Linked DNA regions of Homo sapiens: region 1 is linked to region 2. Evidence: promoter capture Hi-C in 16 types of primary human blood cells and fetal thymus (Javierre and others, 2016). All regions are on one chromosome and are shown on one strand. Each heading gives the region's core, a stretch centred on a gene start or on the middle of the fragment in contact. The rest is flanking DNA. Distances are from core to core; before and after follow the strand shown. Region 1 overlaps SKAP1 (src kinase associated phosphoprotein 1). Region 2 holds the start of HOXB13 (homeobox B13).

The links. Contacts are between HindIII fragments. The CHiCAGO score rates a contact against its expected background, and 5 or more counts as called.
Region 1: a fragment that was not itself captured here is called in contact with the fragment with the promoter of HOXB13 in region 2 in 1 of 17 cell types (total B cells); the score reaches 5.9 in total B cells.

Annotation. Positions count from the first base shown.
Region 1 is chr17:48,309,808-48,312,769 of GRCh38, forward strand. All of the region lies in intron 4 of SKAP1 (src kinase associated phosphoprotein 1), which reads right to left. Among named protein-coding and RNA genes, the nearest start is that of SKAP1-AS2, 17 kb to the left of the region's middle. The HindIII fragment of the contact is 8,426 bases long and covers 1-2,962 here.
Region 2 is chr17:48,727,300-48,730,256 of GRCh38, forward strand. It overlaps HOXB13 (homeobox B13), which reads right to left and starts at 1,451. Exons shown (of 2, transcript NM_006361.6): 1 at 694-1,451. The coding sequence starts at 1,294. The HindIII fragment of the contact is 3,706 bases long and covers 1-2,786 here.

The DNA of each region.
Region 1 (2,962 bases), core at 366-2,865, 420 kb before region 2:
GTTCTAGTCCTGACCATTTATTTCTATTTGGAATAATTTCAAGCCTAACTCTCTAGAACTACTTGAAAATGTTGTCTTGGTATGTTGGCCTTGCACCTTTAATGAGGCTTGGAATAAGGGAAGGTGGAAAGGAATCTTTGGGCAATGACAATTTGGCACCATTTTTGAGGGAAGCCTGTCTTGGTTTTGCCTGCACTTGCACAAATACTACTTCGAAAGACCCTCTTTCCATTCTGAGCAATATGGTTGCATTACCAAAAGCAATATCTTTTATCAGAAGCAGTTTTTGCTGCATGCACCAACTTTCACTATATTCTTAGCAACTCTTTCTTTTATGCCAGTTCCAGACATCAGTTAACAAAACCCTTTAACGAACAGATGTACTGAAGAAATGCATCAATTTGTTATTTGCTACAGTTTGGGGTGTCTGTCCTACGGGTTTTCTAGCCAAAGCCTTATATGTTTCCCAAGAGAAATTTACTTTCATGAGAGAAGAAAATTGAGGCAAATCACTGCTGTTAGACCCTGAAGTCAGAGACACTGGTTTGTTGTCCTTCTGTACATGTGAAGAAAAACTCCACAGTTACAGAAACAATTGTGGTTCCAATTCATCTCTCATTCTCTCCCAATGTGAAAAATTACAAATGAAACTAAATTTCTGTCAATAGAATGTGTATGATTACAGCTGTTCATATTTTCACTCTAATGAAGGGCTGCACATTTAATTGTAAGATTTATTAGAGACTGTACATTGCTATATACATGCAAAACAGTTAATCGACATCTAAAATGCTGGTTGTTTATTCTGACATTAATAATCATATTTCTTAATTTGAAACAAAAAGCATTTGGGGAAAATGTATTTTGTTTCCTCCAAATCGGAAAATAATAATTTCAATGTAAGAAATAAAAAGGCAAGAGAAAAAAATATTGATTTATGTATGTAAGGCAGGGGAACAATTAAAGATGCTTAAAAAAAAAAAGTCCATAATCCCCTATTCTGCTGGAAACAAGAGAGTTGATTGCCAGCTTTGTTTGATTTCACAGAGATCTCATACGAGGCTGGGTTCATAAACAGGTGAAATGATGGAGTTTATTGCAACACACATCAACACTGAAACTAAATAACTGTGTTGCCATCTCAGTCCCACTGAAAGACGGATGGTAAACTTGACCTGCCGCTGGTACTATCCGATTGCCATTTTTTATTCCCCCTTCGCCGCCCCCCCAGGCTGAGCCACGTTGAGTAAATGCATGTGCACGGTCAGGTCAGACCCCGGGATCGGGTGAAACTCCGTTCACATTTGCATACAGGCGGAGTCTCACAATGAAAGCCCATCTGTTCCCGTCTCGGAGTACAAATCGAGTGTCACCCAACTCACTGCAAACGACAGAAGCATGGCCATTAGATGGAGGAACACTCAGCTCAGGTTACGGATATGGAACTGCTGATTTGGGTTTAAATACCTGATCACTGAAGACTTTTCATTATATGTGAACAAAGAATGAACTTTGAACTGCTCAGGAGATACCCTCTCCCCACATTGGGCATCCCCAGTTCTATCCATTACCAATACGTAACTGCTATATTTTCCACTGACTCTATTTTTTGTATAAAAATTAGCCAGGCTGAGTGTCACAATGCCCTAAATAATTGCTTTTTTGCGGGGGAGGAGGGAAGGATAAGGGTAAGAGGTGGAGCAGCAAGGGATGTTGTAAATAGAAAATGAACTCTGAACTCTATATGCCCCCAAAGGTCATTAATATCATGGCAGTGCTATTCCTTGAACTTCTAAATTTTACCAGGGTAGAAATTTTAGTTGCCAGAGTTTAACCAAAGTGTGAACTGCCCCTGCCCTTTAATTCCTCCCTCCCAAACCCATTCAGTTAAGCGAGGCACCTGCCTCCTAGGATCTTCACTCACGGGCCTGGTTATTCCAAAATAGTTTATCAATCACGATCTGTGTCAGAGATTACTTTTCTGTTAAAATTCGGCAAGTACTTTAGAGTTTACAGACAGAAATCACATATATTCTGACACAAAAAGATAGAGCTGTTCAAGAAGAAACCCCAGGATAATAAGCCTATCCAAGCACCAGCCATGATAAATACAAGGAAAATCATGAGCAAAAATATGGGTAGGATTTCATCAAATGCTTTCTTGTCCTATTTTATGGCAAGAATCTATTTCTACAAAAATCTTTCTAAGGAAGACACAAGCATCTGGGGTTTGGCTACTTGTGTTTATATTTGAAGTACTTCTGTATTCTGTTACATGAATCACATTTAACATTAACATACGATTTTAGCCATTAGCCCAGTTTGGGCTCCAGTGCATGTGTGGTTACATGTCCAAACACACAAACTACTGTAGAGAAAGCAGATTGCCAGTTTTCCTTTTACCGGTTATGCTTCTTGTTTTCCAATCAGTAATAGTGTCACTATATGAAGTGCAAAGGTAAAATCTGATTGGGTGAAAAAAAACTTTTAATATCTGCAAGAATTTTCTTGATTTGTTTTAAGTAATTAAGTAATTTGTTTTCTTGCATATACTTCTCTTTCTTAAAACACTTACTAGAACAATTTTATAGAAAAGAATGTATTAGGATGACGTAGAATCCAGAATGTTTAAAGGCCTTTGGTCTTAAAGGCTGTGTCTCCTCAGCAAGGGTTTCTATAACACTATGTGAAACTATGTTCTTATTGTTTGTCCTTTAAAAATAATACCAGGGTAAAGAAAAGATTTGAGGGCTATTTCTTTTTTCATCCCATGCAAGAGCTTATGGTCAACCTTAATGGAAGTTCTACATGCATTAAAAGAGAGAATAGACCCTTTGTTTCAGAAGAATGACCAAGACAAGGGTGAATTTCTGTTCCACTTTGTCAAGTTTAAGGGGAAACTGAATTCAGGAAAAGAGAGTGTGAGAGAGAGAGACCCCCAAACAACTTTCTTAGCTGTCTC
Region 2 (2,957 bases), core at 201-2,700:
ATACCCACACACCACACACAGTCAGGCCTTTGCCCACCATCACATACGTCCAGTCTTCATGCATTTCCAGACTCTTGGCCACTCTTTTAGATTCTACAGGCAAATTCTGGAAACACGTTTCTGCCCCCACTCCCAATACATGCGCATACACACACACACACACACATTAACCCATCCCAGTGCACACACATATGTCACGGCTGCAGGAAACCTAAATTTTTCTTTGGAAATTGGAAAACTCATCTAATAGAAAGTGAGAGGTTGTATTCTCTACAGTACATCCAATACCTTTTTACCCATCTCCCACACCCACTCCCCACGCACCGAATTGAGAGTTATTTAGCTTTTGTGTAGAATTAGTTTGGAATTGTGCTGGGTAGGGACACCCTGATCCCCACTCAACAGCAAAGAGATCTAAACCTCTCAGACATGTTGAAAGGCTGGTCCCAGGGCCTCCTGGAGAAGTGAGGTGGCCTTCAGGCTTCAGATAGCACCCAGCTCAGGCCCCTCACACTGACCTCCATCCAGGCCCTCCAGCTACTCAGACCTCCTTCAGAGTCCTAATAACCAAGGGAGGAGCACCAAGCTCATCCTCACCAGCTCCAAGTCTCCCTCCTCCTCCTCCCAGGGAAATGCCATTGGGACCCACAACCCCAGGCTCAGAGACAAGGGGACCCAGGGTAATAGAGGTACCTGCAAATGCTGCCTTCCAAAAGGGACCTGGTGGGTTCTGTTCTCCCTGGCAACACATCTGGCTGTTCCAGCCACCAGCGAGAGCCCAAGACTGGTAACTGTCCACAGGCAACAGGGAGTCATGTCGCGGTTCTCCAGGAGCACCCAGAGTCTGCACCACAGACACGTCCAGGTAACTGGCCATAGGCTGGTAGGTTCCCGGATATCCCGGATAGAAGGCAAACTCAGTGGGGCGGCTGGGGTACTCTTCCCCGGCCGTGGGAGTCTCCGCGGGGTACGCGGCCAGGGTGGCTGCCTGGGCACAGGGTTTCAGCGAGCTCCGGGACACTCGGCAGGAGTAGTACCCGCCTCCAAAGTAACCATAAGGCACGGGAGCTGGGGACGTCCCCTGGGGCACCCCAGGGCATGGGTGGCATTGCTTTGGCGGCTCCGCCGAGCCTGGCAGATCCAAGGGGGCATAGTTGACAGCAGGCATCAGCGTAGGCGCCGCTGGGTGGCTGGTCAGAGGGGAGTGGGCGACCAGATTCCGCCCCCCTCCCGCTCCCAGCAAGCCTTCGATATCCTTGGCTCCATCCAAGGTGGCATAATTGCCGGGCTCCATGGAGCCGAGGGTCGGCTCATGAGGTGCGGGGGCGGGGAATCTAGGGGGCACCCAGCTCGCTCTCCCCACCCAGGCCGGGGGAATCCAAAGCGTTTTAAATCGCTCCCAGCTCGCAAGTCGCCTGCATTCGCTCAGCACGGCCGTCTTGACGCAAGAGACGCAGGGGCCCGGGCACGCGCGCTGATTGGCTGCGGCCTGGGGGAGAGAAGCTAATAAAATCCTAAAGGCAGAAACTGCGAAAATACTTTACCCCAGCTTATTCTCTCTCTCTCTCTCTCTCTTTCTCTCTCTCTCTCTCTCTCTCTCTCTCTCTGTCTCTGTCTCTCTCTCTCGCTCTCTCGCTCTTTCTCTCCTCTCTCTCTTCTCCCTCTCTCTCTTCTTTTCCCTCTCCACTCCTCTCTCTCTCATTCCACTTAAAAACAACAAGAGAGAAAAGGAAGGAGGTGTCCTTTCGCTGCTTTCCAGTTTGCAGAGTCTCATTTACACGTCCGGGGGGAGGGGAGGCGTGGTGGGCGGAGGAAGAGGGGACGAGGAGCCGGGCCCCACCTCCTTCTCCTCCTCTCCCTCCCTAGCTTTCTGTCTCCTGCGCTTTGACAGGTTTAACGAGAGAATAAAAAGCTCTCTCTATAAAGTGTCCATCTCCTGGGGGGGAAGGGGAGTCGGGGGTGGGGCTGGGAGGCCGCTCCCGGCCTCAGAGGAGAACCCGGGAATGCGCCTGTGTAAGAGGAGGCTGGGAAATGGGGGTTAATAGGTATTTCTGGCAGCCCCTGGCTTTGGGTCCTGGGTACTAGCACCCCAGTTCATTCCCGGTACCCTTCCTGTCCCAGATGTCCTGGAATGAGCTGCTCCGGGCCCCAGGGAGGTGCCCTGGACGCCCCTTACCCAGGGACTCGCTACTGCCCAGAATGCTCTGGAGGCCCTGATTCGGGTGAGGCTGAGGGAAGAGGCGGGAGACACGAACGTAGACGTAGAAGACATGCGATCTGGATGGAACCCAGGACACTCCACTTCCGGACCTGAAGGGGAAATGGAGCCTCTAGAGTGGCCTGTGGAAGGGTCTGGATTTCCCTTTAAGTAAAGACATACGGAGGGACGGAGACCCACAGGACTTGAGGGAGGGACGGGGAGAGGGAGAGATGAGACTCAGGGACAGCAACACAAAGAGGGAAAGAGAGAAGCTGACAGAGCGGATGGGACAAAATCTTGTAAAATCCTGAAGTGTCAGTCAGAAAAGAGAAAGAAGAGAGGCACTTTCCCCCTTTTTTGGGATCTAAAGAAGTCTGAGGAAGCCAAGCCTGGCTGACTGCCAGAAACCAGCTGCGGGAGTTCTGGACCCCAAGAATACAGACGCCTGTGTGGAGATGCCAGTCTCCCTGCCCTGCAGTCCTCTCCCTATGGTCTGCAAGGGGCCCAGGAAACTGTCCCTGATACTGGCATACTCCCACACAAGCTGAGTACCCAGAAAGCCCAAGACCCCTATCTGCCTCCTGCAAGCTTTAAACTTCCTTACAAGGAAAAGGGAATGGAAGGGGAAACCCCAGCCACTGGCAGAATTGCTTGAGGCCCCTCTGTTGGGGCCTAATGTGCAGTGCAATTCAGAAGAATCAAACGGTTTGTTTCACAAATCTGTCTTTAGAGGTTTTCCGCTTCCTTTACTACCCCT